Linked DNA regions of Homo sapiens: regions 2, 3, 4, 5, 6 and 7 are each linked to region 1. Evidence: promoter capture Hi-C in human tissues and cell types (Jung and others, 2019). All regions are on one chromosome and are shown on one strand. Each heading gives the region's core, a stretch centred on a gene start or on the middle of the fragment in contact. The rest is flanking DNA. Distances are from core to core; before and after follow the strand shown.

The links. The method cuts DNA at HindIII sites, captures the fragments that hold promoters and counts their contacts. A contact is called where the count stands out against the background at its distance.
Region 2: a contact is called between a fragment that was not itself captured here and the fragment with the promoter of ABCC12 in region 1, in 1 of the 25 tissues and cell types used here (lymphoblastoid cells).
Region 3: a fragment that was not itself captured here is called in contact with the fragment with the promoter of ABCC12 in region 1 in 2 of the 25 tissues and cell types used here (mesenchymal stem cells and spleen).
Region 4: a fragment that was not itself captured here is called in contact with the fragment with the promoter of ABCC12 in region 1 in 1 of the 25 tissues and cell types used here (spleen).
Region 5: a contact is called between a fragment that was not itself captured here and the fragment with the promoter of ABCC12 in region 1, in 1 of the 25 tissues and cell types used here (spleen).
Region 6: the fragment with the promoter of C16orf87 here is called in contact with the fragment with the promoter of ABCC12 in region 1 in 3 of the 25 tissues and cell types used here (aorta, hippocampus and mesenchymal stem cells).
Region 7: a contact is called between a fragment that was not itself captured here and the fragment with the promoter of ABCC12 in region 1, in 2 of the 25 tissues and cell types used here (lymphoblastoid cells and spleen).

The regions. Positions count from the first base shown.
Region 1 is chr16:48,154,515-48,157,540 of GRCh38, forward strand. It overlaps ABCC12 (ATP binding cassette subfamily C member 12), which reads right to left and starts at 1,479. Exons shown (of 31, transcript NM_001393797.1): 1 at 1,327-1,479. The HindIII fragment of the contact is 12,201 bases long and covers 1,108-3,026 here.
Region 2 is chr16:46,640,100-46,643,088 of GRCh38, forward strand. No RefSeq gene overlaps it. Among named protein-coding and RNA genes, the nearest start is that of SHCBP1, 20 kb to the left of the region's middle. The HindIII fragment of the contact is 3,378 bases long and covers 43-2,989 here.
Region 3 is chr16:46,872,022-46,874,721 of GRCh38, forward strand. No RefSeq gene overlaps it. Among named protein-coding and RNA genes, the nearest start is that of GPT2, 11 kb to the right of the region's middle. The HindIII fragment of the contact is 5,013 bases long and covers 1-2,700 here.
Region 4 is chr16:46,706,173-46,708,916 of GRCh38, forward strand. MYLK3 (myosin light chain kinase 3) reads right to left here. Exons shown (of 13, transcript NM_182493.3): 13 at 1-1,591. The coding sequence ends at 1,532. Among named protein-coding and RNA genes, the nearest start is that of ORC6, 18 kb to the left of the region's middle. The HindIII fragment of the contact is 3,696 bases long and covers 1-2,744 here.
Region 5 is chr16:46,793,112-46,796,120 of GRCh38, forward strand. No RefSeq gene overlaps it. Among named protein-coding and RNA genes, the nearest start is that of C16orf87, 37 kb to the right of the region's middle. The HindIII fragment of the contact is 4,329 bases long and covers 1-3,009 here.
Region 6 is chr16:46,829,766-46,832,585 of GRCh38, forward strand. C16orf87 (chromosome 16 open reading frame 87) reads right to left here and starts at 1,415. Exons shown (of 4, transcript NM_001001436.4): 1 at 1,319-1,415. The coding sequence starts at 1,384. RefSeq lists a silencer at 1,112-1,761. The HindIII fragment of the contact is 8,650 bases long and covers 1-2,820 here.
Region 7 is chr16:46,605,247-46,608,084 of GRCh38, forward strand. All of the region lies in intron 5 of SHCBP1 (SHC binding and spindle associated 1), which reads right to left. Among named protein-coding and RNA genes, the nearest start is that of SHCBP1, 15 kb to the right of the region's middle. The HindIII fragment of the contact is 6,049 bases long and covers 1-2,838 here.

The sequences.
Region 1 (3,026 bases), core at 229-2,728:
CTCCTTACTGTCTCTGTGACTCTGAGATTTGGGGTCATGTAACATTTATTATTGCATTGGCACTGCTGTCTTCCTTATAGTGTTTCCTGAGGCCTTTTTCTCTATCCTTGTCTCTGCCCCAAGAGAGAACAAAAGATGTCTAGAAGTCATCTCAAGAAGAACCATTTTCCACACCTGCCCACTTTGCTCTGTTATATTTCATTTCTGCCCCTGTCTAGCCCAGAAAATTAACAACTTTATGTTTGAGAACTGGACTCTGGGTCTTCCTTGGTGCTCATGATGGGAGTTCCTCCATCAACCAAAAGCAGGCACACCTTTAGTCATAAAATTTTTCCCAGGTATGAGACTACAGCCCTACTTCTTTCTTAATAAATCCATTGTTAATTTAAAGCCACCAAAGTTATCAATATCTGATGGTCTCCCCCAACTCCCACAGCCCCTTCCTCCAGGGCCTGACTGGCCTCCAGCACAGAGGAGACACTGGGGAGCTCTCCCAGGCCCTGCCTGCACCGCACCTCTCCTGTCTGTCCCCAGGTCCCAGGCACCTGTGGCAGCCAGATCAGAAAGCCCTGTGAGTGATGAGGGACTGGGGTTGGGAGGCAGGGAGAGGCAGAGAGGTGGCAGAGGGAAGTGCATGCAGGGGACAGCACCAAGCTGGGGGTGTGGGAAGGGAAGTGGGGGTGCTTTTGCTCAAGTACCCTCATCTCCCAGAAGGCCTAAAACAGTGGCCAGTGATGGCATCTCCAAAAGAGGTCATCCATCCAGTTACAGACACATTCCGACACGATCAAAGAAGGATGCAGAGCCTGGATTCAGAGCAATTCAAATCTACCCTCCCAGGAAAATAATATATTTAAAAGTTAAAAAAAAAAAAAAAAGAAAGAAAGATGAAAACCTCATATGAGAACTGCAGTAAAGCTTTCCAGGTCTTTTTTTTTGGGGGGGAGGTATAAATCCCATAATTAAATTGTGAACACTACCCTGTATATGTGTTTGTGTTTGTGCATGTGTGGGAAAAGACTTAAAATATTCAATGTAGGCTTTTGTATTTCAGAGATTTTGAAATCGCGTCTTGGCATTTCTGCCTTTTCTTTTATGATAGCGGGGGCTCCAAAAGTGGAAGAGGGGCTGCCTTTCTTCTGGGAGCCTCGTCCCTGCTGCCTCCCACTTGGGCAGCCCCATTCAGTGGTGTCACCTCCCCCAAACCCCCCACCACACACACACACAGCCTGTCCTGAGGATGAGAAACAAAGGCCCTTGGGACTAAATGGTGGCCACTAATTGTTACAGGGAGAAGCTTTACCTGGGCTGGAAATGAAGCTTTACCTGGGCTGAGGATGAGAGGGAGGGGAGGAGGGTCAGCAGTCATGGGGCTCAGAGCCTGGCATCTGCTGCCCAGGACTCCAGGGCCTGCTTCTCCCCAAGGACCTCAGATTCAGTTTCTCTTGTCCCACCCGCCTGAAGTCCTCCTCTCCAACTGCCCCATTCAACTGCCACTCCCACCACACCTGAGAGGGAACTCTGGCGGGCCAACATTCCCTCTGCCCACATTAAAGGGCTCTCCCCTCTTCCAGGATGGCCTGTGGCCGGGTCTGGCTCTTTGGTGACAGTCAGAGCCCATGCATGAAAGCACTGTGCATGGCCAGCCCTTCCCTGGCTGTCACAGCACATCCTTGTAGAAGAGAAGGAGAAAAATCCTCTCTCCAACCGTCATTCTACAGACGAGAAGCCCAAGGAACAGAAGCCTGTCCACGACTGGCGTGGGGCTGAGACCAGCACCCAGGTCCCCTGAGTCCCACTCCAGGCTCCTTCCTGAGAGAATGCATCGAATTTTCTACGCTGTGTTCCTGCAACCGGGAATCAACTTTGGGATCAGGGGAAGGGAAGGGAGGGGAGGGGAGGGCAGGGGTAGGGGAGGGCAGGGGTAGGGGAGGGCAGGGGAGGCGAGGGGAGGGGAGATGAGCCTCATCTTCAAAACAGAAAATCTCATTCATTCATTCCCCATTCATTTAACGAAAAAGAAAAGGGTAATTTGAGCTCAATTTGTCTTGAAATGAACGGAAGGTAAGTCTGAGACCTGCACTAGCAGCTAGCCCTTGCATAGAAAAGTTCCCCTGTGTCACCCTTGGAACCCTGCACATCCCGAGCGCAAGCGTGATTCCCGGGGTCCCTTCTGCGCCTGTCCCAGAACAAGCGCCCGATTTCAGGGGAGCCCAGCCGAAGGGTTCCACAGCGCTCAGCGAGCCGGCTGGGAGGGAGCAAACTCTCTAACTGCAGAAAAAAACAAATCTTGATTCCGCTTTAAGGGTTATTTAAACATCTTAGAGGACCTTCCCAGCCTCACGCACGTGGATTTCATGAGGAACTTGGCCGCTACCTTCTCCTGTCCTGCGCAATGCCGCCCCCTGCTGGCTGCCTTCCGGCCCCGCCGCTTCCTGGAGATGCGAATTCACCGCCTTTGCCCAACCTGAGTTCCCTTCCTACCTAGAGGGAGGTGGAAATGGAGAGGGGCTGTGGGCAGCTGTGTAGGAAAATGGGTCCTCCCAGGAAGGCTCCCCGGCCTGGGGAGTGAGCTAGACCGACAGCAGTTTCCTTACACGTGTCCAAAGTGTTCCATTTAATTTCCGTCCATTCTTCCCTTCATGAATGCAAATCACTGCTAATAATATCACTCGACATTTCTGGAGCCCTTTGTGTATCGCAAAATTCTTCATCCTCTTTATCACTTGATCTTCGCAACAACCCCGGGGGTCTCATAAACACAGCAAAGACTCGCTTCCACAATCTTCCAAACGGAGTCAAGTGCTGTCAAGTTTATGGAGGAAGAATGCCGATCAGTTTTCCTCTATCTCCATGAAAGGCTGGGCGGAGATGGATTTCCACCCAGACAAACAGTATTGGGCGCTACGCAAGAAGATTGGTGGGCCTAGCCGGAAACAGAGTGGAGAATGATGGAGAGGGACTGTCCGGTCTGTATCCAAGGAAGTCCTTAGGAAAAGACCAGCCAAGCTCCTGTTCCAGGCAGA
Region 2 (2,989 bases), core at 482-2,981, 1.5 Mb before region 1:
GAAGTATCTTTAGGGCTGGGTGCAGTGGCTCGTGCCTGTTATCCCAGCACTTTGGGAGACCGAGGCAGGAGGATCGCTTGAGCCCAGTAGTTCAAGACCAGCCTGGACAACATAGGCAGACCCTGTCTCTACAAAAAATAAAATTAGCTGGGCATGGTAGTGCATGCCTGTGGTCCAAGCTACTGGGCAGGATGATGTGGGAGGATTGCTTGAACCCAGAAGACTGAGGCTGCAGTGAGCCGAGATTGCGCCACAGCACTCCAGCCTGGGTGACAGAGGGAGACCCTGTCTCTAATTAATTAATTAATATCCCATATATCTTTTGTATAAGTAATCCATGTTCACTATAGAAAATTAGAAAATAAGAACAAGCTTTGGGCATCTCATCACTCACAAGACCTCATCATGGTCTGAGAAAGCCCATTCCCTTCCACCCATCTCAGAGGCTAAATCTACTCTGTGGCACCCACACAATTTGCTTTGCTTATAGCTGCAGTTCTCCACCCACTTAGGATTTAATTGGCTTGGAGTGGGGCCCAGGTATTCACATTTTTAAAAAATGCCTTTAGCCTAGGTATGGTGGCCCATGCCTGTAATCCCAGCACTTTGGGAGGCAGAGGTAGGAAGATGGCTTGAGTCCAGGAGTTTGAGGCCAGCCTGGGCAAGAAAGCAAGAGCTTTGTCTCTACAAAAATAAAAATTTAAAAATCAGCCGAATGTAGTGCTGCGCACCTGCAGTCCCAACTACTCAGGAGGCTGAGGTGGGAGGATCACTTGAGCCCAGGAGTTCAAGGCTACAATGAGCTATGATTGTACCACACACTTCAGCCTGGAAAATAGAGTAAGACTCCATCTCTTAAAAAAAAAAAAACTGCCTTCCCAGCAGCCCCAGTTAGGGGCTTATAGATAAAACTCCCATCTCCCTGGGACAGAGCACCTGGGGAAAGGGGCAGCTGTGGGTGCAGCTTCAGCAGACTTAAACATTCCTGCCTGCCGGCTCTGAAGAGAGCAGTGGATCTCCCAGCACAGCGTTCGAGCTCTGCTAAGGGACAGAGTGCTTCCTCAAGTGGGTCCCTGATGCCTGTGCCTCCTGACTGGGAGACACCTCTCAGCAGGGGTCAACAGACAACTCATACAGGAGAGCTCCGGCTTGAATCTGGCAGGTGCCCTTCTGGGATGAAGCTTCCCAAAGGAAGGAACAGGCAGCAATCCTTGCTGTTCTGTGGCCTTTGCTGGTGATATCCAGGCAAACAGGGTCTGGAGTGGACCTCCAGCAAACTCCAGCAGACCTGCAGCAGACCTGCAGCAGAGGGGCCTGCCTGTTAAAAGGAAAACTAACAAACAGAAAAAGAATAGCATCAACATCAACAAAAGGATGTCCACACATAAACCACATTTGAAGGTCACCAACATCAAAGACCAAAGGTAGATAAATCCACAAAGATGAGGAAAAACCCTCGCAAAAAAAGCTGAATATTCCAAAAACCAGAACACCTCTTCTTCTCCAGAGGATCACAACTCCTCTCCAGCAAGGGAACAAAACTGGACAGAGAATAAGTTTGATGAATTGACAGAAGTAGGCTTCAGAAGGTGGGTAATAACAAACTCCTCTGAGCTAAAGGAGCATGTTCTAATTCTAACCCAATGCAAGGAAGCTAAGAACCTTGAAAAAAGGTTAAACGAATTGCTAACTAGAATAACCAGTTTAGAGAAGAATAAAAATGACCTGATGGAGCTGAAAAACACAGCATGAGAACTTCATGAAGCATACACAAGTATCAATAGCCAAATCAATCAAGCAGAAGAAAGGATATCAGAGATTGAAGATCAACTTAATGAAATAAACTGTGAAGACAAGATTAGAGAAAAAAGAATGAAAAGGAATGAACAAAGCCTCCAAGAAGTATGGGACTATGCAAAAGACCAAACATATGTTTGATTGGTGTACCTGAAAGTGACAGGGAGAATGGAACCAAGTTGGAAAACACTCTTCAGGACATTATCCAGGAGAACTTCCCCAACCTAGCAAGACAGGCCAACATTCAAATTCAGGAAATAAAGAAAACATCAGAAAGATACTCCTCGAGAAGAGCAACCCCAAGACACATAATTGTCAGATTCACCAAGGTTGAAATGAAGGAAAAAATGTTAAGGGCAGCCAGAGAAAGGCTGGGTTACCCACAAAGGGAAGCCCATCAGACTAACGCTGGATCTCTCTGCAGAAACCCTATAAGCCAGAAGAGAGTAGGGGCCAATATTCAACATTCTTAAAGAAAAGAATTTTCAACCCAGAATTTCACATCCAGCCAAATTAAGCTTCATAAGCGAAGGAGAAATAGAATCCTTTATAGAAAAGCAAATGCTGAGAGATTTTGTCACCACCAGGCCTGCCTTACAAGAGCTCTTGAAGGAATCACTAAATATGAAAAGGAAAAACTGATACCAGCTACTGCAAAAACATATCACACTGTAAAAACCATCAATACTGTGAAGAAACTGCATCAACTAAAAGACAAAATAACCAGCCAGTGTCATAGAGACAGGATCAAATTCACACATAACAATATTACCTTTGAAAGTACATGGGCTAAATGCCCCAATTAAAAGACACAGACTGGCAAATTGAATAGAATCAAGACGCATTGGTGTGCTGTATTCAGGAGACCCATCTCACATGCAAAGACACACATAGGCTCAAAATAAAGGGATGGTGGAATATTTACCAAGCAAATGGAAAGAAAAAAAAAAAAAAAAAAGAAAAAAAAAGCAAGGGTTGCAATCCTAGTCTCTGATAAAACAGACTTTAAACCAGCAGGCCGGGTGCGGTGGCTCACACCTGTAATCCCAGCACTTTGGGAGGCCAAGGCGGGTGGATCACGAGGTCAGGAGATCAAGACCATCCTGGCTAACATGGTAAAACCCCGTCTCTACTAAACATACAAAAAATTAGCCGGGTGTAGTGGCAGGCATTTGTAGTCCCAGCTACTCAG
Region 3 (2,700 bases), core at 88-2,587, 1.3 Mb before region 1:
TTGCTGCTTAGAAAATTCTTCTGCCAGATACCCTAAATCATCTCTCTTTGGAGTTCAAAGTTCCACAAATCTCTAGGGCAGGGGCAAAATGCCGCCAGTCTCTTTGCTAAAACATAACGAGAGTCACCTTTGCTCCAGTTCCCAACAAGTTTCTCATCTCCATCTGAGACCACCTCAGCCTGGACCTTATTGTCCATATTGCTATCAGGCTTTTGGTCAAAGCCATTCAACAAGTTTCTAGGAAGCTCCAAACTTTCCCACATTTTCCTTTCTTCTTCTGAGCCCTCCAAACTGTTCCAACCTCTGCCTGTTACCCAGTTCCGAAGTTGCTTTCACATTTTCGGGTATCTTTTCAGCAACGCCCCACTCTACTGGTACCAATTTACTGTATTAGTCCATTTTCATGCTGCTGATAAAGACATACCTGAGACTGGGAAGAAAAGTAAGTTGTTTTTTTTTTTTGAGACGGAGTGTTTCTCTTTTGCAAAGTAAAAATATGGTATTATAATCTTATGAGATCACCATTGTATACATGCTCTGTCATTGAAACGTTGTTATATGGCACACAATTGTATGTAAGGTGCTGAAAGAGAAAACCTGTCACTGATAATTCTACACCCAGCAAAACTGTTCTTCAAAAACAAAGAAGAGACTGGGCACAGTAACTCACACGTGTAATCCCAGCATTTTGGGAGACTGAGGCAGGTGGATTACTTGAGCCCAGGAGTTCAAGACCAGCTTGGACAACATGGTGAGACACCGTCTCTAAAAAATAATAATAATAATTGGCCGGATACAGTGGCTCACGCCTGTAATCCCAGCACTTTGGGAGGCCAAGGTGGGCGGATCACCTGAGGTCAGGACGAGACCAGCCTGGACAACATGATGAAACCCTGTCTCTGCTGAAAATACAAAAAATTAGCCAGGCGTGGTAGCAGATGCCTGTAATCCCAGCTAATCGGGAGGCTGAAGCAGGAGAATCGCTTGAATTTGGGAGAGCCGAGATCGCACCACTGGGCGACAGAGTGAGACTTTGTCTCAAAAATAAATAAATAAATAAATAAATAATAATATTAAAAATGAAACACAAAGGAGAAAATAGACATTTCTAAATAAACAAAAGCTGAGGAAATTTGTTATCACTAGACTCACCCTACAAGAAATGCTAAAGGGAATCCTTCAAGTTGAAATGCGATGACACCAGACAGTAACTCAAAGCCACATGAAAATATAAATTTCCATAGCAAAGGTAAATAGACAAATATGAAAACCAGTATTACTGTAATTTCTGTTTGTAACTATACTTAGGGGATGCTGAACACATCAATGTAGTGGGAGGGTGGCATGCTCAAGAGAGGGCATGGAAGCTCTGTGCCCCTCCCAGCCTCCCACGCCTTGTTCTTTGGCTGTTCTTGTTTTATTCTTTAAAACAAAACTGTAATAATGATTATAGCACTTTCCTGAGTTGTGTGAGTAATTCTAGTGAATTATTGAATACAGGGGGTAAGTCATGGGAACTCCCGAATTTTTAACCAGCTGGGCAGAAGTGTGGGTGCCCTGGGGACCCCACTTGTGGCTGGTGTCTGAAGTGGGGGCAGTCTTGTGAGACTGAGCACTGAACCCATGGAGTCCTAAGTTCAAGTCTTAGCTTTGCCACCCTAGCTATGTGATTTTTTTTTTTTTTTTTTTTTTTTTTTGCTCTGTTGCCCAGGCTGAAGTACAGTGGCATGATCACAGCTCACTGCAGCTTCGGCCTCCCAGGCTCAAGGGTATCCTCCCACCTCAGGCCCCTAAGAAGCTGGGACCACAAGTGTATGCCATCATGTCGGCTAATTTTTTTATGTTTTGGTAGAGATGAGGTCTTGCTATGTTGCCCATGCTGGTCTCGAACTCCTGGGCTCAAGCCTCCCAAAGTGCTGGGATTACAGACATGAGCCACTGTGCCCAGTCTAGCTATGTAATCTTGATAAGTAGCCCAACCTCTCTGAACATCAGTTTTCCTATCTGTATAATGGCGATAACGGTGGTATGTCATAGGGTTCTTCTAAGGCATCTATGAGATGATGCATTAAAGCACTTGGGGCAGTATCCAGCACATTAAAAATATCCAATAAGGCTGGGTGTGGTGGCTCAATGCCTGTATATAATCCCAGCACTTTGGGAGGCCGAGGAGGGTGGACCACTTGAGGTCAGGAGTTTGAGACCAGCCTGGCCAACATGGCGAGACTCCATCTCTGCTAAAAATACCAAAATTAGCCAGGCATGGTGTCAGGGCACCTGTAATCCCAGCTACTTGGGAGGCTGAGACACAAGAATCGCTTCAGGCCGGGCGCGGTGGCTCACGCCTGTAATCCCAGCACTTTGGGAGGCCGAGACGGGCGGATCACGAGGTCAGGAGATGGAGACCATCCTGGCAAACAAGGTGAAACCCCATCTCTACTAAAAATACAAAAAAATTAGCCAGGCGTCGTGGCAGGCGCCTGTAGTCCTAGCTACTCGGGAGGCTGAGGCAGGAGAATGGCGTGAACCCGGGAGGCGGAGCCTTCAGTGAGCCCAGATTGCGTCACTGCACTCCATCCTGGGCGACAGAGCCAGACTCCATCTCAAACACAAACAAACAAACAAAAGAATCGCTTCAACTGGGGAGGTGGAGGCTGCAGTGAACCAAGATCATGCCATTGCACTCCAGCCTGGGCAACA
Region 4 (2,744 bases), core at 16-2,515, 1.4 Mb before region 1:
ATAGCCTAATGTTGACTGGAAGCCCTATCAATAATATAAACAGTCAGTTAATACCCATACACACATATGTGTTCGTGTGTGTGTGTGTTTGTGTGTGTGTATATATACATATACTGTATTCTTTTTTTTTTTTTTTTTTGAGACGGAGTCTTGCTCTGTTGCCTAGGCTGGAGTGCAGTGGTGCAATCTTGGCTCACTGCAAACTCCACCTCCCAGGTTCAAGCAGTTCTCCTGCCTCAGCCTCCAGAGTAGCTGACATTACAGGCATCCGCCACCACGCCCCACTAATTTTTGTATTTTTAGTAGAGATGGGGTTTCACTGTGTTGGCCAGGCTGGTCTTGAACTCCTGACCTCAAGTGATCTGCCTGCCTCAGCCTCCCAAAGTGCTGGGATTATGGGCATGAGCCACCACACCCAGCTTATATACTGTATTCTTACAATAAAGTAAGCTAGAGAAAAGTTACTAAAATCATAAGGAGGAAAACATATGTTTACTATTCATTAAGTGAAAGTGGATCATCATAAAGGTGTTCATCTTCATCATCTTCCTGTTGAGTAGGCTGCAGAGTGGGATGAAGAGGAGAGCATGGTGTTGCTGTCTCAGGGGTGACAAAGGTGAAAGAAAATCCACATTTAAGTTGACTGCAATTCAAACCCTGTTCAAGGGTCAACTGTACATGTATATAGAAAGTGTATGTGTAGAGTGACAACATTGAGAGTGCTACAGCCTGAGGCAGCAGAAGAGCAGCTTTCCTTTATGTCTCAGGATGTATCATTTCTGTGTTTCTCAGAAAGCGGAACCTCATTACATTCTTATCTCTTTCATAAATTGCCTATCAGCTTCCAGACTTACAAGACCAGAAATTTATAACTAAGACAGAGGGGTTAAGACAGGCAGAATTAGGAGAGAGGTGGAGGTGTGTGGAGATTTAAAAAGCACAGTCAAAATGATCACTTCTTTGATTTGGCTATGAGAGTTGACATATTTTGACATTTCAAGTGATGCTGATTCTCAAAAGGGAGCATAAGTTAAAGCAAGTTTGAAGATCACTGTCCTAAATCCACATGGCTTAACACAAGAATGGGGTAGTACAATAAAATGTCAGCTCACACCTGAGCAAATCAAAATTCTAGGAATTCTTTGTACTGGAGGAGATAACACTGAATAACATGGCCCCTGCAAAGTAGTCTACTGAGTTCCTTAATCAGTGTGAGTTTAGAATTTAAATTCGACAGATGCAAAGTACCTACCTAAAGCATCCCTACACTTACCACCAAAAGTAGGTATATTTGAAAGGTACTCAGAGCATTTCACACGTAGTGATCTTACAAGGCAGAAAAAAACGTTCTTAGGAAGCTTCTTTACAGCCACTTTTCATCCACAAGGAAGGCAGCAGCCATAACCATTTTTACAAAATAAGTGGAATCAATAATACCAAAAAGCCAAATTATTTAAATGTTTGAGTCATCTCTTCACTTCACCACTGGCCTCAGTAATTTCTGGACCCATTGGAGCAGCAGAGTTGAAGATTAGGGAGAAGTTGGAAATTTCCTTAACCTGTTGGCAGCAGTCACCACATAGAAATGTTTCTTGAGGCAAGGAGAGAATAAAAGAAAAGAAAAAGCATGTATTTTAGACCAGTTGCCTTATGAAGAAACAATAAAAGGATTTAAGTGAGTCCAGCCACTGGGGTTGGTTTAAATCTGATACCTAAAGGGAAACAAGTTTCTAAAATAATTATAGAATAGTCACATGACTTTCAGGGGCATGTTGGGAGTAAATATGAAGTGGGAAGATACATCATCCTGCCCTCTTTTTTTTCTTTTTTTGGGGAGGGGGTAGGGGGGTCAGGATGGGGTCTGGCTCTGTTGTCCAGGCTGGAGTGCAGTGGCGTGATCTTGGCTCACTGCAACCTCTACCTCCTGGGCTCAAGCAATCCTCCCACCTCAGCCTCCCAAGTAGCTGGGACTACAGGCAACCACCACCACGACCAGCTAACTTTTGTCTTGTTTGTAAAGATACAGTCTCACTAGGTTACCCAGGTTTATCCTGCCCTTTTCACATGAAAAATGGAGCACCCTAGAACAGTGTCTTATTTTTATTTTTCATCAGCCTACATCATGCTTTGATAGAACAGTGTTTTTCAAATTGTGATTCACAACCGAGCAATGGGTCATGAAATCAAATTGGTGGGTTGTGAACAGCATTTAAAAAATAAAACCAAGTGGCACAGAATAGAAAATATCAGAATACATCATATTCTGTTAGAGAAAATGTTGTGATTTTTTTTTTAAACAGAGATGGGAGTCTCCCTCTGTCACCCAGGCTAGAGTACACTGGCGTGATCACGGCTCACTGCAGCCTCAAACTCCTGAACTCAAGTGATCCTCCCCATTCAGCCTCCCAAATAGCTGGAACTATAGGTGCAGGCCACCACGCCTGAGTCAAATTTTTGTTGTGTGTTTCCCGGTAAGTGTGTACATGTATAGGTATTCTTGTGTACTGGCTCCATACATAAAGGGTTTTGTTTGTGCTTTTGGATCCCCAGTGAGGATCTAAGTCCATATTAAATTGTTGGAAGCCACTTCCCTGGATCACAATTGCTTTTAAGATAGGTTTTATGTCCATGGGACTAAAGAATTCTGTTGTAAACAAAATTATAAAGTTTTAAAAGTTTAACAGGCCTTTCTTATCTCCCATTTCTGAAATGTGGAAGAATCAGGCCTCAAGCTCTAAGCAGTT
Region 5 (3,009 bases), core at 455-2,954, 1.4 Mb before region 1:
ACTCAAAATCAGAAATGAAAGCGGAGACATTACAACTGATGTCACAGAAATAAAAAGGACCATAAGGGACTATTATTATCAATTATATGCCAACAAATTGGATAACCTAGAGAAAATGGGTATTTCTAGAAACATAGAACCTACAAAGATTGAATCAAGACTAGAAAACCTGAACATACCAATCACAAATAAAAATATTAAAGTTGTAATAAAATACTTTTCATCAAAGAAAAGCCCAGGACCAGATGGCTTCATGGTTGAATTCTACCAAATATTCAAAGAATTAATACTGACCAGGTGCAGTGACTCATGCCTGTAATCCTAGCACTTTGGGAGGCTGAGGCAGGCAGATCACCTGAGGTCAGCAGTTTAAGACCAGCCTGCCCAACATGGTGAAACCCCATCTCTTCTAAAAATACAAAAATTAGCCAGGCTTGGTGGCAGACGCCTGTAATTACAGCTACTCAGGAGGCCAAGGCAGGAGAATCACTTGAACCCAAGAGGCGGAGGGTGCATGAGCCAAGATCACACCATTGCATTCCAGCCTGGGCAACAAGAGCAAAACTCTGTCTCAAAAAAAAAAAAAAAAGAATTTATACCAATCCTTCGTAAACTCTGCCAAAAAGTACAAGTTCTGAACTCATTTTCTGAGTGCAGCATCACCCTAATACTAAAGTCAGACATCGCAATGACATAACATCCTTTTATGATAAAAGAACTCTCAACAAAATAAATATAGAAGACAAATTCCTCAATGTAATAAAGGCAATTTATGAATAGCCTACATTCTCAGCTAATATCATTAATGGGGAAAAAACGGAAAGCTTTTCCTTTAAGATCTGTGTAAGGCAAGGATGCCCACTCAATACTTCCACTGAACATAGCACTAAAGATACTAGCAAGAGCAATCAGGCAAGAAAAATAAATAAAAGGCATCATATCAGAAAGAAAGAAGTACAATTATCCATTTGTAGATGACATGATCCTCAATATAAATAACCCTAACAACTTCACAGAAAAATTATTAGAATAAATGAATTAATAAGTTGTAAGATACAAAATCAACATACAAATATCAGTTGCATTTCTTTACACCAATAACAATCTATCCAAAAAAAAAATCAAGAAAAAAATCACATTTACAATACCATCAAAAGAATAAAATATTTAGACTTTTTTTTTTTTTTGAGATGGAGTTTCGCTCTGTTGCCCAGGCTGGAGTGCAGTGGCGCGATCTCGGCTCACTGCAACCTCCACCTGCCAGGTTCAAGCAATTCTCTGCCTCAGCCTCCCGAGTAGCTAGGATTACAGGCACCCGCCACCATACCCGGATAATTTTTGTATTTTTAGTAGAGATGGGGTTTCACCATCTTGGCCAGGCTGGTCTTGAATTCCTGACCTCGTGATCCACCTGCCTCGAACTCTCATAGTGCTGGGATTATAGGCGTGAGCCACCACGCCCAGCCCAGAAATAATTTTAACTAATAAAGATCTGTACCCTGAAAACTATCAAACATTGATGAAAGAAACCAAAGACACAAAAAAAGGAAAGATATCCCATGTTCATAGATTTGAAGAATACTATTTAAACTACACATACTATCCAAAATGATACAGATTCAACACAACCCCTATCAAAATTCCAATGACATTCTTCACAGAAAAAAAAAAACTCTTAAAAAAACACAAAAGACCCCAAATAGCAAAAACAATCTTGAGAAAGGAAAACAAAGTTGGAGGCATCACAATTCATGATTTCAAACTATATTACAAAGCTAATCAAAACAGTATGGTACTAGCATAAAAACAGACACATACACCAATGAAAAAGAACAGCAAGTCCAGAAACAAACCCAATCATATATGTTCAACTAATTTTCAACAAGGCCACCAAGAAGACACAATGGAAAAAGGATAGTATCATCAACAAATGGTGTTGGGAAAACAGGCTATCCATATACAAAAGAACTAGACTGGACCCTTACCTTACACCATATACAAAAAATCAACTCAAAATGGATTAAAAAACCTAAACCTAAGACCAGAAATCATAAAATTACTAGAAGAAAACAGGTAACAAGCTAGAAAAACTCCTTGATATTGGCCTTGGCTATGATTTTTGAATATTACACCAAAAGCACAGGCAACAAAAGCAGAAACAAACAAGTGAGACTACATCAAACTAAAAAGCTTCTACACAGCAAAGGAAACAATCAAGAGTGAAGAGATAATCTGTTGAATGGGAGGAAATATTTGCAAAACATACATCTAAGGGGTTAATATCCAAAATACATAAGTAATTCAAACAACTCAATAGCAAGAAAATAACCCAATTTAAAAATGGGCAAGGGATGTGAATAGACATTTCTTAAAAAGAAGACATACAAATGGTGTACACATATAAGAAAAAGTGCTCAGCATCACTAATCATCAGGGAAATGTAAATCAAAACCATAATATCAGCTCACACCTGTCAGAATGGCTATTATTAAAAAGACAAAAAATAACAAGTGTTGGTCAGGATGTGGAGAAACAGAAAATCCTGTACACTGTTGGTGGGAATGTAAACTGGTACAGTCATTATGGAAAATGGTATGGAGGTTCATCAAAGAACTAAAAATAGAACTACCTTATGATCCAGCAATCCCATTTTTGGGTATATATCCAAGGAAATGATGTCAGTACGTTGTACGTTGAAGAGATATCTGCACTCCCATTTTCATTGTAGCATTATTCACAATAGTCAAGATATAAAATCAATGTAAGTGTTCAACAGATGAATGGATAAAGAAAATGTAGCATAGGCCAGGCGCAGTGGCTCACGCCTGTAATCCCAGCACTTTGGAAGGCCGAGGTGGGCGGATCACAAAGTCAGGAGATCAAGACCATACTGGCTAACACGGTGAAACCCCGTCTCAATTAAAAAATACAAAAAAATTAGCCGGGCATGGTGGCGGACGCCTGTAGTCCCAGCTACTCGGGAGGCTGAGGCAGGAGAATGGTGTGAAC
Region 6 (2,820 bases), core at 165-2,664, 1.3 Mb before region 1:
TTTCTGATAAGCATTTTTACTACAGCCCATAAAGGATACTTAATAAAACATGTAACATGTTTTCTGTTAAAAGATTTGAAAAACCTACAAGAATTCTCCTTGAAAAATGCACTAAAATCAGCTTATTAAAAAGTCTCCAGCCATTTCAAATTACTCTTGATTTAAAAAAAAAAAAAGGCGGTGGGGGGAGGGGAGGAGAGAAAGGTAGTCATTTTGAAAAAATCCACTCAGTGGAAAAGGAAAAAACACACCCAGATCTACATGTTGGTAACAAACGAGGGCCTTACGAATGGTTTTAACTGAAGTAGTTTTAACTCATTAGATGTTAAGGCTTAAAGGAATGTCTATTATTCCAGTAAAGAATTGAGACACGCTTCAACACAGCGATCACTGAAATGAGATGTTTTAAATTACAACTATTACACCATGAACTCAATGTAGAAAGGAATCGTTTCAAATTCAAGAAACGAGATAGAGAGATAGAGAGATAGAGAGAGACAGACAGAGAGAGAGAGAGAGAGAGAGAGAGAGAGAGAGAGAGAGACACACAGAGACATTCAGACAGACAGGGATACAGATCTGGAAGCAGACAGGCCAAATTTGTAACAGTGGATACTGCGAGGGGTGGGGAAGTTAGGAGCGCCCAAAAAGGAGGAAGGGCTTAAACAGGGGCTTTATTCAATCATGACCCATTAAAAACGATGTAAAGGCAGGATTCGCGATTGCACAGCAAAAATATAATAAATAGATGAGGAAGGGGAAAAAATCTCCAAATTCGCCGAAACTCAAAATCATTACACGCGGCCCCCTTTGTCCCACTCAGGCGCCCGCCCCGGTCGCGGAGGGGCCGTTTTGGGGAAGCCCCGCACCCGTCGGAACCGGGAACAAAGCCGCCCCGGCCGCAGGAGGGGTTCTCGGAGCTAGGGCCTGGCCTCGGAGGCGGGCGTGCGGCACACTCTCGCCGGGGCTGCGGCCCGCAGGCTCCCACCGCTGTCACCGCCGCCGGCGAGGAGAGTCTGGGGCTCCAGACAGCCGCCCGGTGAGCCCACCAAAGGCGCGCTCCTCCAGTGGCCGGGACACAGCAAGAAGGGGCTTGGCCGTCTGGCCGCCGCCAGGTGGACGCTGGCGGGCCACGGCCCCGGGCTTTTCCCGGGAAACCCCTCGGTGCAGCCCGACCGGCCCCGGATCCCCGCCGCCGCCGGCGGGCCCCAGGATCTGCCCACCGCTCGGCCTCCGGGAGCCCGGCGAGGCCCCCCTCCACAGACAACGGCCGCCAAGCCACTGCCGCCCGCCCGCGCGCCCGGCCCCCGGCACCCACCTGTTGGTCGCACTCGGGGCATGATTTGGTGGCCATCTTCACTTTCTTGGCTCGAGTTGCAGACATGCTCCTCTCCCTTAGCGGCGGCAGCAGCGACGGCTCGGGCTCCTCCCCTCACACTTCGGCAGCCCGGCCTCCGCCCGCCCAGTCCCCGCGGGCCTCAAACAAGCCTCTGGCGGGTGCGCGCGCGCGCGTGCGCGAGCTCGCGCGGGACCTGGGCGCCAAGGGGGCGGGGCGGAGCGTCGGCCGGCGGCTCCTGGGGACCGCGACACGCGCTCCCACGGCGGCTCGCGACCCACAGCCCGCCCGCGAGCTCGCCCAGAGTATCACGAGACGAGGGGAGACCTCCCCCCCCTCCGCCAGACCGCCCCGGCGCGGCAGTGGCCACGCCTCCTCTCGGCCTGGCCGACTACGAGGGGGCAAGGCCTGGGCGGGACTCGGCAGTAACGGGCGTCGAGTTCGACCAACGAATGCATAGGTAGGGCGGGCCGTAGTGCTGGGCACGCCCCATCCCCACAGAGACCGTGGGAGCGAAGGCTGGGGAATGAATGGTGAAGGGCGTAGCGTGGATCCTGGCATTTAATAAACTTAAGTAGATGTTACCAAGGCTAATCATTGAGAAATTATGATAGACATTTTATGAGACCACTGGACCCAGCAGCAGAGTGAAAATTCATTTATTTATTCAATATATAATTGCCTAAGTCCCACTGTCAGGAAAATTTGAATAAAATGCAGTGTCAGCCTTCAAGGAGCAGCCTAGCTGTGTAAACCAGTGCTACTCACTATCAAGATGAGGGATCAGATGTTTTTCTTTTTCCAATCTGTCCGTGACTGATACTTACTAAATTAACATTAAAATTAAATTATTCGAGGCTGGGCGCAATGGCTCACGCCTGTAATCCCAGCACTTTGGGAAGCCGAGGAGGGCGGATCTCTTGAGCCCAGGAGTTCCAGACCACCCTGGGCAACATAGCGAGACCCCCATCTCTACAAAAAGTAAAAGATTTTTAAAAATTAGCTGAGCGTGGTGGCCCATGCCTGGAGTCCTAGCTAGTAGAGAGGCTGAGGTGGGAGGATCGCTTGAGCCTATGAGATTGAGGCTTCAGTGAGCCGAGATTGTGGCCACTGCACTCCAGCCTGGGCGACAGAGCGAGACTCCGTCTCAAAAAAAAGAAAAAGAAAGAAAAAGTGAAATTTAAAAACAACTATGCAAAACGTAAGCTTACTTTTAAATATTTAATTTGACAGACCCAAAGTTATACTTAATAAACAATCAGAACAAACATAACAGAAAGAAAATTTACAAACTGTACACTTGGCTCAGAGAAAATTTACCAATATGCATTTATTACAGAGACTGGCTATTCCACTGATAACTTTTTATTCAACAATTGTTAACTAAAGCAAAGTTATGAGTTACAATTTTACATAGTAAATGCCTGTAAGCACACTTTGTATAAATAACAGTTATATAAATGTTTAAAGCTTTTAATATGAAA
Region 7 (2,838 bases), core at 172-2,671, 1.5 Mb before region 1:
GTAAATGCACAATCAAGTTAACAGATATAAAATTAATGGGTTTAAAAATAAAGTAAAATAGGCCAGGCACAGTGGCTCACACCTGTAATCCCAGCACTTTGGGAGGCCAAGGCAGGCAGATCACTTGAGCCCAGGAGTTTGAGGCCAGCCTGGGCAACATGGCAAAACCCTGTCACTACAAAAATACAAAAATGAGCCTGGTGTGATGGCATGCACTTGTAGTCTCAGCTACTTGGGAGGCTGAGGTGGGAGGATGGCTTGAGCCCCAGGGGTCAAGGCTGCTGTGAGATCTAATTATGCCACTGTACTCCGTACTCCAGCCTGGGCAACAGAGCAAGACCCTGTCTCAAAAAACAAACAAACAAACAAACAGATGCTCAGGGCCCCATCCAGACCAATTAAATGGGTCTCTGGACATACAAGGGTATTTTTTTAAGTTCCCTGGGGATGCTAATGTGTAGCCAAGAGTGAGAACGATTGCCTTAAATGATGTTGTTTTTTTTTAATTTAGTCATGCTCTAAATAAGATAGGGAAAAACAAATGCAAGATAGAACCATATCTTAAACAAATTTACATCAGACTATGAACACTTAAACATTTTGAATGAATAAAAAAGAAACTTTTCCCGCTTTTCAAGTAAGTGAATTAGGTGAAGCTTGAAAAGCAAGGATTTTGTCTACTTTGGTTAATCCGAAAGAAACTGAGTGAACAGCTGTGAAAAAAAAAGGGAAAAACAAAAAAATTTAAAAATTTTAAAAATAAAAAAAAGAAATTGAGGATGAAACCATGTTCTACTAAGTTGTGAAGATTAAGACTCAAATTTTAAAATAAGTCTCTTAGCACTTCCAGTATCCATGCCCGTTAGCTTATTTCTTTTCATTTCTTTTCATTATATTGATACTTCATAGTCTAAAAGCAATGAAGTAACATTTGTGTCACAGATCCCGAAGTTCTGAAGCAGTGTTGGTTTTTTTCAGACCTCCTTTAGTCACATATAAGCAGTGTGTTTTGAAGCAGAAAGGAAAAATTTACTGCACAGTACAAAATCCAGACACTCTGGTTTGATCTTGCCTGTTGATAGCCCCACTCCTATCTTAGCCCAGAGACCTTTTTTAAGTCTGCCTACATTTGATAACATTCCAGTCTCTCCATCAAGTACCACCGTGTCTTCTGCAAAACTACACACGATTCCTCCCTTATGCCATCCCATCTGCCAGTGATGTACAAGCTATGCATGTAAGTCATTGCTTGTCGTTAGCACATGCAAGGCTATCAAATCAGAATACAATTTTTTTCCAAGTAAAGATTGAATTTGTCCGATATACGTTATGTTCCCTTATCATATTTCATGTCAATCAAAATCAATCATTTCTTTTTAAGAGCAAAGGTATCAAACCTAGAAAATACTCAAGCTTATTGAAATTTTGGGATTTTATTGAATATGCTATGGAAAAATAGGAAATGCACAATGGAAAAACTGGAAAGCCTAAATAGAAATCATAGCCCATTTACGAAGAGCTAAAATCACACATACATAATTCTAAACCAGGTAGAACTATTAATCAGACTTTCAAACTTTTTTTTTTTTTTTGAGACAAAGTCTTGCTCTGTCACCTAGGCTGGAGTGCAGTGGTTCAATCACAGCTCATTGCAGCTTCAAACTCCTGGACTCAAGCAATCTTCCTGCCTCAGCCTCCCCAGCAGCTGGGACTAGAGGCATGCCCTAACACACCCAGCTAATTTTTTTTTTTAGGTTTCGTAGAGGTGGGGTCTCACTATGTTGCCCAGGCTGGTCTCAAACTCCTAAGGTCAAGAGGTCTTCCCGGGCTGGGCACGGTGGCGCAGTCCTGTAATCCCAGCACTTTGGGAGGCGGAGGCAGGCAAATCACTTGAGGTCAGGAGTTCGAGACCAGCCTGGCCAACATGGTGAAACCCTGTCTCTACTAAAAATACAAAAATTAGCTCGGTGTGGTGGCATGCACCTGTATTCACAGCTAGTCAGGAGGCTGAGGTGGGAGGGACACTTGAGCCCAGGAGATTGAGGCTGCAGTGAGTGACATCACACTGCTGCACTCCAGCCTGGGCAACAGAGTGAGAGCTTGTCTCAAAAAAGTTGTCTTCCTCCTTCAGCCTCCCAAATTACTGGGATTACAGGTGTGAGTCACCATGCCGGGCCTCACACATTTTTTATTTTATTATTATTTACTATTTAAGCCAAGAGAAACTCACTAAATCGACTTGAGTTCCACAAAAATGTAAAGGCTTACTGCCTTATCTTCTCATCTCATCTTTCACACAGGGGAAAAAAATCATCTTTCAAACGGGGGGAAAAAAATCATCTTTCACCCAGGGAAAAAATTACCTTCTACAATTATTTTTTTGGAGTGCAATTTATAATTTTATTATTATTGCAGCATTGCCTATGAAGTTACTGCTTATGAATACAAGAAAAAATTACTGGTCTTAAAGCACCATCTAGTGGGGAGATAAATGCCACATTTAATAAGGTCATTAAGATTTAAGGCAGGAGGCTGACAAAATATCCTAAGGTAGATCTGCTAGTTCAGCCTGCTGTGTTTCACTGCAGAAACTTAGAGTAAAGCCATATACCTTTAAAGTATTCTTTACAAAATTAAAGCCAAAAAGTCTTCTATAATTCAAATAATGTCACTGTTTTTCAAACAATCGAATTTAACAAAGGGCTTCTTAACCCACTAGTTCAATGTTCAATTGAATTTTATTCAAATTAACAAAACAGTGAGCTACTAATTTAGATGTTCTTGAACTTCCTGCTTTTAGACTCAATTTATAAACACTAAAAGCAAGTTTCTCTGCAC